Regions from separate parts of the Homo sapiens genome. Here region 2 is linked to region 1. Evidence: promoter capture Hi-C in 16 types of primary human blood cells and fetal thymus (Javierre and others, 2016). All regions are on one chromosome and are shown on one strand. The core of a region is centred on a gene start or on the middle of the fragment in contact, and the rest is flanking DNA. Distances in the headings are between cores, read along the strand shown. Region 1 holds the start of TUBGCP2 (tubulin gamma complex component 2). Region 2 overlaps LRRC27 (leucine rich repeat containing 27).

What was found. The method cuts DNA at HindIII sites, captures the fragments that hold promoters and counts their contacts. A CHiCAGO score of 5 or more calls a contact.
Region 2: a fragment that was not itself captured here is called in contact with the fragment with the promoter of TUBGCP2 in region 1 in 1 of 17 cell types (monocytes); the score reaches 6.1 in monocytes.

The regions. Positions count from the first base shown.
Region 1 is chr10:133,305,466-133,310,193 of GRCh38, reverse strand. It overlaps TUBGCP2 (tubulin gamma complex component 2), which reads left to right and starts at 1,322. Exons shown (of 18, transcript NM_006659.4): 1 at 1,322-1,371. ZNF511-PRAP1 (ZNF511-PRAP1 readthrough) reads right to left here and starts at 1,280. Exons shown (of 9, transcript NM_001396060.1): 1 at 1,098-1,280; 2 at 731-804; 3 at 217-418; 4 at 1-30. The coding sequence starts at 1,250. It overlaps ZNF511 (zinc finger protein 511), which reads right to left and starts at 1,280. Exons shown (of 6, transcript NM_145806.4): 1 at 1,098-1,280; 2 at 731-804; 3 at 217-418; 4 at 1-30. The coding sequence starts at 1,250. RefSeq lists enhancers at 795-1,089, 497-1,192, 1,916-2,145 and a silencer at 836-1,685. The HindIII fragment of the contact is 14,798 bases long and covers 1-4,244 here.
Region 2 is chr10:132,335,716-132,340,484 of GRCh38, reverse strand. LRRC27 (leucine rich repeat containing 27) reads right to left here. Exons shown (of 11, transcript NM_030626.3): 3 at 2,790-2,920. Among named protein-coding and RNA genes, the nearest start is that of LRRC27, 5.9 kb to the right of the region's middle. RefSeq lists a silencer at 894-1,048 and an enhancer at 4,702-4,761. The HindIII fragment of the contact is 6,013 bases long and covers 273-4,769 here.

The DNA.
Region 1 (4,728 bases), core at 73-2,572:
CTCTGTGCAGCCTTCTACCAAGCACTGATACTGAAATGGAGACCGTGTCACCTCCCTCTGACCCCTGGCCCTCCCCCACCGCCATGCCCCCGTAGCAGAGCTGCCAAGGGCGGAAAGGTGTCCCCGGCCTTGCCCGAGCACCCGAGAGCTGGGGGCAGCACTCTGAGCCCATCACCAATGGGGGGTGGCCTCGGCGGCTGTGCAGTTGTCACCCACCATGTCCTGCCTCTCAGACAGGATCTGGAAGAGCGAATCGTGCCACTCCAGGATGTGGGCGTCCAGCAGGTGTCCGGAAGGGAAGGCCCGCTTGCAAAAGGAGCAAACATTTCCGTGCAGCGTGTGGTAGTGGTGCTCGTAGTCGTCCAGGGCATCGAACACCTGGCAGCAGCCGGCCACCTGGCAGGCAAACGCGGGCACCCTGCCAAGGAGACGTGCTTCAGGAGCCCTTCCTCCGGTGCGAGGAACCAAGCTGGACTTTCTGCACAGTTTCCCTTTGAGACGTCCAATAAAGCCCCTATGCATCTTTTGCAATCCCAAACCCTCTTTTTATGAATTAAGTTTCACAAACAGGCTAGGTGGTGGAAGAGTCGGCCACGCCAAAGCTGGACAGGCACAGCGCCTCGGTGGGGCGGCCGCACATGGAAGAGCGGCAGCACAGCCCCAGGGACCAGGCACCGGTCAGGGAGGCGGCGCAGGAGTAGCACTGGCTAGGCACTGCCCATTCGCTTACCTGGGCTTCTCAGGCACGTCGGCCACCTGCATGATCACGTCCTGGAGGTAGAGGTGGCGCTGCACGTCCCCATCCTGCAGGAAAAGTGCGCCGTGGGCGGGGCCAGGTGACTCGCGGCACGCCCACCGCGTCAGGCCTCGCCCACACCCGTGGCCCCAGTCATCCCGCGCTCCGGTCCCGCCCCACAGCCTCAGGCCCCGCCCACTCCACGTTCCGGCCCCGCCCCACCACCTCAGGTCCCGCCTGTCCCAGGCTCCGGCCCCGCCCCGCAGTCGTAGGCCCCTCCCACTCCAGGCTCCGGCCCCGCCTCGCCGCCGTAGGCCCCACTGGATCCTACAACTACTTTTTCCCTCTTTTGCTCACGCACCTCGAAGAACTGGTGCTCCCGCGGGAAGCGCACGGGGCGCGCAACGAAGCGAAAGGGCGCGGCCCCAGCCGCGGGATCCCGCTCTACAGGCAGCGGCTCCGCCGCCCCGGGCCCCGCAGCGAGGCGGGCGCACAGCGCGGGGGGCAACTGCATCACCCCGGGCGCGGGCGGGCGCAGCCTGTCGGCCACCGTCCGCGAGCCGAGCCGGACGTGACGTCACGCTCACTTCCGCCGCCGTCGGGGGCTGCGCGGGGGCTGTGGCTCCGGGACTGCGGTGAGTCCTGGCCGAACGCGGGCGCGGGCGTGATGAGGGGGTTGGGGGACTGCCAGGCCCGGGGGGGCCCACGAGGCGACGGGGCTGGCGGGACGCGGCTCTTCCCGCGCGCTCCCTCTGGCTGTGCAGCGGTCCCCGAACTCTGGGGCCGAAGCCCTTCGGGCCTGCACCGGCCAGGCCAGCGTCTTGCCCCGCGGCCCGACACTCAGCCGGGGCGGGGCGGAGCGGGCCTCCGGGTCGTCCCGGGTGTCCCCTCCCAGCCCTGGGAAGCCGGGTCGCAGGTCCCCCTCTCGCACGCCCTCTCCCGTCCGCCTTGCCCCGCCTGTCGTCTCCCGCTGCAGTCCCTGGATCTTGTTCCCTCTAAACCAGTCGCGAACTGGAGCCAAAGTGACTCCAGTTTTATTGTAACCGTTTTTAATTTAAAGCCCTTGGGTGACTTCCCGTTACTTTAGTTCAAAGGCCCTTTCCTGGTTTGTCGGGGTCCTGTCGACCTCTCCAGTCCCCGCAGCTCCCGTGAAACACAGGACCTGTGCTAGGTGCTCAGGGCGTGTGGGGGAAGGCATCACAGGAGGGCGCGGCAGCCTTGTAGGAGAGACAGACGTCAGAGTAAAGAGTCACCTAATTAAAATGGTGAATGACAACACACGCGGGAAGCAGTGGACGCTTCAGATCTACTGCAGAGAATGGGCCCAGTGGCGGATAGAGGCTTTAGCTTTCTCGTCTGTCACCCAGGCTGGAGTGCAATGGTGCGATCATAGCTGATAGATCGCTGCGGCCTCAAATTCTTGGGCTCAAGTGGTCCTGCTGCCTCAGCGTTCCAAAGAGCTGTAACTGCAGGCGTGAGCCACCATGCCTGCCCCTGTACTTTTTCCATGTTTAGATACACAAATATCTCTGTGTTACAGTTGTCTAGTGTTCAGCACCGCCACCTGCTGGGCAGGTTTGTAGCCCACGAGCAAGAGGCTCCTCTAGGTGGTTTAGGTGCATTGTAGGCCGTACACCATCCAGGTCTGCGAGTGACTCTGATGATCGCACAGAAGGAAATCATGTAACCATACGTTTCTCTTTTTTTCTTTTGGAGATAGTGTCTCTCTCTGTCGCTCAGGCTGGAGTGCAGTGGCGCGATCTGGGCTCACTGCAACCTCTGCCTGCTGGGTTCAAGCGATTCTCGTGCCTCAGCTTCCCAAGTAGCTGGGATTACAAGTGTGCGCCACCAGGCTTGGCCAATTTTTGTATTTTTGGTAGAGACTGGTTTTCACCATGTTGGCCAGGCATTTCTCAGAATGTTGAGTGATGCATGACTGTACTTTCTGTCTCTGTAAAAGCCTTTGGGCTCTTGACATTTTCCACAAGTTGTAAAATAACATTTTTCAAACCAATTTGTACAGTTAGCTTTGAGCTCTCAACAGAGACTCTTTTTCACGTCCCTCTGTGTTTTAATCACTTGGAGTGTGTGCTCACTAGGAGTGTGTGCCCCGCTTGTCCGTGGTGGAGTGTGACATGCGTGCATTGCTTCCCTCAGCACGCGTCCCTGCGGTAGCTCACAGCCTCTGTGAGGAGGACGTCAGTCCCTCCCAGTCACAGTTGCTGGGCCTGTCAGTTTGTGTGATTAATAGTAAGAATTCAGGAGCATCAAGAAGGCCAAGTCAGCGGCCATGGCTAGACGTTCCTCCAAGAAGCAGCCACGGCTAGATGTTCCTCAGAGCTGTGTTTTCAGTGGGACGCTGTGCATTTCTGGCGGGACAGCTCTGTTGATGATTAGCATCCCCCGCCCTTGCCCTCTAAGTAGCGAGAGCACCCTTCCATGACCGTGACACCCCAGAGTTGCCCTAGGACTTTTCCAAAGGTCTTCTGGGGGGAGGGACTCTGTGCGAGTACGGGCTGCCCTCTTGGAGGCCCGGTCCCCACATTCAGGGAGAGCAGCAGGCTCCTCATGGGATGAACACTCATGACGTGCGGGCATCTGTGCTTCTATTTCTAGAAGAGATACGAAGTTTCCTGAAGGTAGTTTTTATTTTTTTTATTATTATTTTTTGAGACAGAGTCTCGCTCTGTTGCCCAGGCTGGAATGCAGTGGTGTGATCTTGGCTCACTGCAAGCTCCGCCTCTCGGGTTCATGCCATTCTCCTGCCCCAGCCTCTGGAGTATCTGCGACTACAAGCGCCCGCCACCACCCCCGGCTAATTTTTTTGTATTTTTAGTAGAGATGGGGTTTCACCATGTTAGCCAGGATGGTCTCGATCTCCTGACCTCATGATCCGCCCACCTTGGCTTCCCAAAGTGCTGAGATTACAGGCGTGAGCCACCGTGCCCAGCATGTAGTTTTTAAATAAATACTCAGATGATTTTTCTTCATAGGTAGCTTTCTCTCCTGACTTGTGTCTGGTGGGGGAGTGCTTTGTTTTGGTGGCAAATGGTTTTCTTGCCACCTAGCATGACCAAAGTGTTTCTCAGACCAGCAGTTATAGGACAACCTGCAGTCCTCGGGGAGCCGAGTAGAATGTGGGTGAAACAGGCCACCCTTGGATTTGAAGGGGCCGCTGGCCGGAAAGTTTGGGCTGTCTTTTCTGCTTCACAAGTAGTTTGCAGGGCCTCGTCCAGGGCTCCCATGACTGTTAAAAAAGCATCTGGTAGTTTAAGATGTTGTCAGTGATTGGGACCCAATTTTCCTTTTGTAAACCTAACCATTTCCCAGATAACAGAGTTAACACCTCCAGGGAGCAATGGTGCCGCATGTTTGTTTCTGCTTTCCTGGTAACAACAGTGTAAGAACTTACCACGTATGGGCCCTTCTGTGCTTTCTCAGGGTGATTTCACTTCTCTCTACCACAGCTCTACGCAGGACCTAGGGCTTCCCCTTTTCAGAAGAAGCTTGGAGAGGACGTGTCCTTGTTCAGGGTCCCACAGCCTAGAAGTAGCCACGTCAGTGTCCAGACTGCATGGGGCTCCATGGCGCGTGCCCTGCTGGCCTTGTGCTTGAACTGTAGTTACCGTGAGCACCTCCTGGGTCAAAAGCATGTGTGTGAGCAACTCAGCACCATGCCTTCTTATCGCTCTCCTTCCATTTTCGGAGATACCCTGCCTGTGACCAGTATTTGATGTTCATCTACAGATAAACTGTCTTCCATCACACAGGATTAGAATCTCGGTGTCGAGTCCCGTGCTAATAATCGTTAGTGAATTAGCATATTGTGGGAGTATGTGCTGAGTCTTCTGTACTCTATTGTAGGGACCAGCCCCACAGGGTCGGTGGGTTTTTCTCCTCGTGTGCGGAGATGAGAGATTGTAAAAATAAAGACGCAAGACAAAGAGATAAAAGAAAAGACAGCGGGCCCGGGGAACCACTACCACCAAGAC
Region 2 (4,769 bases), core at 2,030-4,529, 970 kb after region 1:
CAGCAAGAGCAGCACCACGCTCTCGGCTTCTCCAATGCTAGGGCTTTGTCAAGGCAGAAAGGTTCTGGCCCACTCACGTGCTGCTGGGTGGGGCTGGGTTCGGTTTTGCCTGAGAGGGATTGCGGGGGGTGCATGTTTACTGACTATTAACCTGAAAGTACAGCACGGGTTTTTCTACCTTATATAATAATATTATTAAAATATTCTGAGCACACTTTAAACGATAAATTGATAAATGTTAATTCCTTAAATACTATCAATAATTCAAAGCTTACCCGTTGATTCGTTTCATTGATTTTAAAATGAATATATAAACGTAAACGTTGAGTTGGACTTGTTGGCCTAAGGAGGTAAATGAACGGATCCATGCTTCCTACATCTTCTCTCTGCCAGCAAGCTGACACATCCAGGACACTGAGAAGGTGGCATGCTAACACCGTCACTGTTTTAATTATGTTTTGAGAGGTTTAAGGCTTTAATAAGCCCACAATCACTTTGTATTTCCGAGTAATATGTCTCAGCTCTGTAGTTGATCTAATTTGAATGTTATCATGGGTTACAAATCACAAATAAAAGTATACCTCCAAAAACATAGGCAGCCAGCTTTGACTAGCAAAATCAAAGAATTTCAAATTTTGAGGACTGTACACTTATTTTAGGGAAAACACGAGTAGTTATGGGAACAGGTCTTAGTTCATTTACATCCTCTGAGTAGCACTTACTCTCCAGAACTGTGTAAGGCTAAAACAATTTGTGGACAAAAGAGCACCCAGTGATTCTAAACCCAGAAGATGATGATCGTGTGAAGAAGAAATCCTTCCCAAAGCACTCTCAGCCTCAGGCTTGGAAGCCTCCCGAGGCCGTGAGGACAGGGTGGACAACTGCCCAGAGAGCACCTGGCTCCCATGCAGCTCCCAAAACACAAGCGGCTGGCCGGGCTCGGCAGATGTACCAGCTGAGCCCCGGAACACTCTTCTCCTCCAGGTCCGTCTGTGGTCCGCCCTGCAGACCCCAGAGTCCCTAGGAGCCCCATGGAGATGCACCGGGTGTGTTTCCACCTGCTCCGGACACCACCTATCATTAGATAAGCAGCTTCCTCGCAGAGCCTGAAGGGTGAGTGATGCATGGTTCCCTCCCATTACCTGTGGCAAAATACACTGACTTCTTATAAAACATTTTTAAAACCAGTGAGTTCAAGGCAAGTGAAGGGCCTCCTACAAGCCTCTATTCTACTGTCCCACGGAGGCCACCATGGCTCTTGGGAGACACCATTCCTCACGTAGGAACTGGGGGCACCCTGGATACCCCTCTTCTTCTTGTGGCCCCACACCCACCCGCATCCCACCAGCTCTGAAGTCCCACCCAGGCCCTGCCGTGGCCAGCCACGCCCAGGCTGCCCCTCCTGCATGGGCTGCTGCCGTGGCCCCAGCTGATATGGGGCCTTCATATCAGCACTTGTCAAAAGAGGTTCAGGTAGCCGGGCGCGGGGGCTCATGCCTGTCATCCCAGCACTTTGGGAGGCCAAGGCAGGCAGATCACTTGAGGTCAGGACTTTGAGACCAGCCTGTCCAACATGGCAAAACCCCGTTTCTACTAAAAATGCAAAAATTAGCCGGGCATGGTGGCGGGCACCTGTAATTCCAGTTCCTTGGGAGGCTGAGGCAAGAGGATCGCTTGAAACCAGGAGGTAGAGGTTGCAGTGAGCCGAGATCACGCCACTGCACTCCAGCCTGGGAGACAGAGCAAGATTCCGTCTCAAAAAAAAAAAAAAAAAGAAAGAAAGAAAAGAAAAAGAGTTAAGGGCAATCATGGCTTCAGAAGGTGAAAAAGCCATGGCGCCGGGGATGTGGGCACAGAAGCAGAGAGCTCAGGAAAGGAGGACGTCTCCATAGTGAGAGTAGAGTCCTGGCTGCTGGGGAAGGGCCAGGCTGAGGAGGGGAAAGGAGGTGTGACGTTTCCACCATGGGCAGGATTACACCCCACAAGTGGGAATGCAAGGAAACTCCTGGAAGGGAAGTGGTGGAAATGGACAGGACACCTGGAGCTTGGTTGGGTGCTCCCAGTTTTCCAAAGTGAGAAGAATTTCTCACTATTTGCCAAGAACCAATGTGGGTTACCCAGGAGCCCTCAGGAGCAAAGGAGCTGGTTTATTTTTTATTTATTTTTTTTGAGACGGACTCTTACTCTGTCACCCAGACTGGAGTGCAGTGGTGTGATCTCAGCTCACTGCAACCTCTGCCTCCTGGGGTCAAGCAATTCTCCTGCCTCAACCTCCTGAGGAGCTGGGATTACAGGCACCCACCACCACGCCTGGCAAATTTTTGTATTTTTATTAGAGATAGGGTTTTGCCATGTTGGCCAGGCTGGTCTCAAACTCCTGACCTCAGGTGATCTGCCCACCTCGGCCTCCCAAAGTTCTGGGATTACACGCGTGAGCCACCGCGCCTGGCCAAAGTTGCTGGTTTAACTCATCAGAGGTATTTCTGATTTTCAGACAGCTTCACACAAGGAGAGTCAGAGCTGGAATCGGCTGTGACAAAAATCACACTGGCTGCCCAGCAAAAAGACACTGTGGCTACAGCATTCTCTGTGGCACCAAATATCCCAAGTTATAGTTCTGTGTTGGGTACATTCAGCCGTCGCAACCTCTTAGCTGGCTTTAAAAATACTATTAAATGTTTCTATTCCGAGGTAAAAATTTAATCAAGAGTAAAGGACAAGGAGCGAAAGAACAGGCACTCGTGCACTGAAAAGATGATTTTTAAAATCTGGAAACATAAACAACTTACTGGTGAGCTCCAATCCCAGAAGGAAGCGCTTTAATTCTATTGTACCGGAGGTCCAGCCAAGTCAGGTTCGGAAGCAACTGAAAGAAATCTTGAGGAATCACACACAGGGCATTCCTTTGCAGATGCAATTGCTTCCATGGAAAAGAGAATCAGAGAATGTTTTGTTAACCAACTAATTTGTAAAACATGATATATCCAAAATCTATTTCCAAAAGAACTACTAACAACCAGAACCGTATATACTAAGTTAAAAAACAAAAACCCAATCTCTTACCCTTAAAAGATGTAAACAGTAGACAAAAGAATCAGAAAGAAAAGAACCAGGACTCCTTCCGGCGGCCTTTGGAGCCGGAACTGACTTCCTGAAGAGCCGGCACTCTGCTGCTGACCCAGCACACCACTGTTTCTATCCCAAAGCCTTTGACATGGTCTGAATTCCGGGGCCCCACACTCAGTGTCTCGGCCGTTTCTCCAGTGCCTGCCGCAGCACCTGGCCCTCGGCAGCCCCCGAAATCGCCTGCTTACTGAGCAAATAGCCAGAGCCATGTCTGGTCTGGGGGACTCAGCCCAACTCAATCATTAAAATGAAACTAAAAGACAGGGACAGAGATGTCTGCCGTGGTGTTCTCTACGATCAGCAGCAAACAAAGCCTCAGCGAGCAGCATTTCAGAAGCAGATTGACACATCAACTCGGTGGCGTTGTAAAGTCGTGACAAATAAGGGAAGGTGGAAGATGAACGTATACACGCTGATTTTAGCTGTGTAAAATGCATATAACATTCACACAATTTTACAGTCACAGTGTGGAAGGATCATAGCTAATTTTTACAATACTGTCATTAATGCTGCTAGTTGTTTATACTCACATTATTATATGTATTTATATCCATATCTGTATTTCCTGAGGGAGTAGAAACAGATGTTCGGAACAATGATCTCAAAGCCAGACTGCCTGGATCCACATCTAGGTTTCAAAATCTATTGGCTGTGTGACCTTGAGCAAGTTCCTGAACCTCTCTGTGCTCCAGTGTCCTCATCTGTGAGACGGGGCAATGTGGGCAAGCACTAAAGAACAGTGCGTGGATTGGCTGTTGTGATTACGTTGCCTTCTCTATGAAACACACACTGCACATTGCACAGAGCACCACATGCCTCCCCATTCCGCCCTCAACACCGTGTCCCTGATCCAAATCACTGACAGATTCCAACTGGAGAAACACTGACTGGAAAAATCACACTCTTCAGAAAGGCACTGGAAACACTATCTTATCTCTGTTAGGAAATTGCCCGAGTCACTGCTTGCTGGCAGCTGGCTCGGTCTCCAGAAAGCATCCTGGCAATCACAGGTCACAGTGTGTGCCCCCACGTATATGGGTGTGCACCCCCCACATACAGGCATGTGCATGCCTCCACGTGCTGCCTTTCTCGGGCCTCTGCAGGAGTGGTTTTACACTTCTTGGTCCTGTTCTTCCCCCCCCAGGGCAAGCTGATTCCAGTGCTCAGCTTTGAAACCATGTCGTTCTCAATGCCAGTAAAAGGAATCTCAGAAAGATAACACTCTTCTTCCTCCCCAGCACCTCTGGAAATGCAGGCACCACCTGTGACTTGGAGCTGGTTATGGTTGAAGGAAATAATATATACAGTGGTCCATTTCCAAGACAAAGTGCCTTGAATTGGCTTAGGTCAGCAAACTACAGAAAAACAGGATGTACTAGGCCCCTACTTGGATAGCCGATGCCTGCTTGTTGGCCATTCCCCACCCCTTAGTTGCCCTCACCCAAACCAAAGAAGATTAGTCTAAGATGAAAGTTTACTAGCCCGCAAAATAGCTCGTTTTGTCCGTTCTTATCAGCCTGCCCAGCTACTTAGGTCATAAATCAAATACTTGAAGAGCCCCTGAGCTGACTGGGATTGCAATGCATTGTGGGCCACGACAAAATAAAGCAGGACAACCCTAAAGAAAATACCTACAGCCCCTG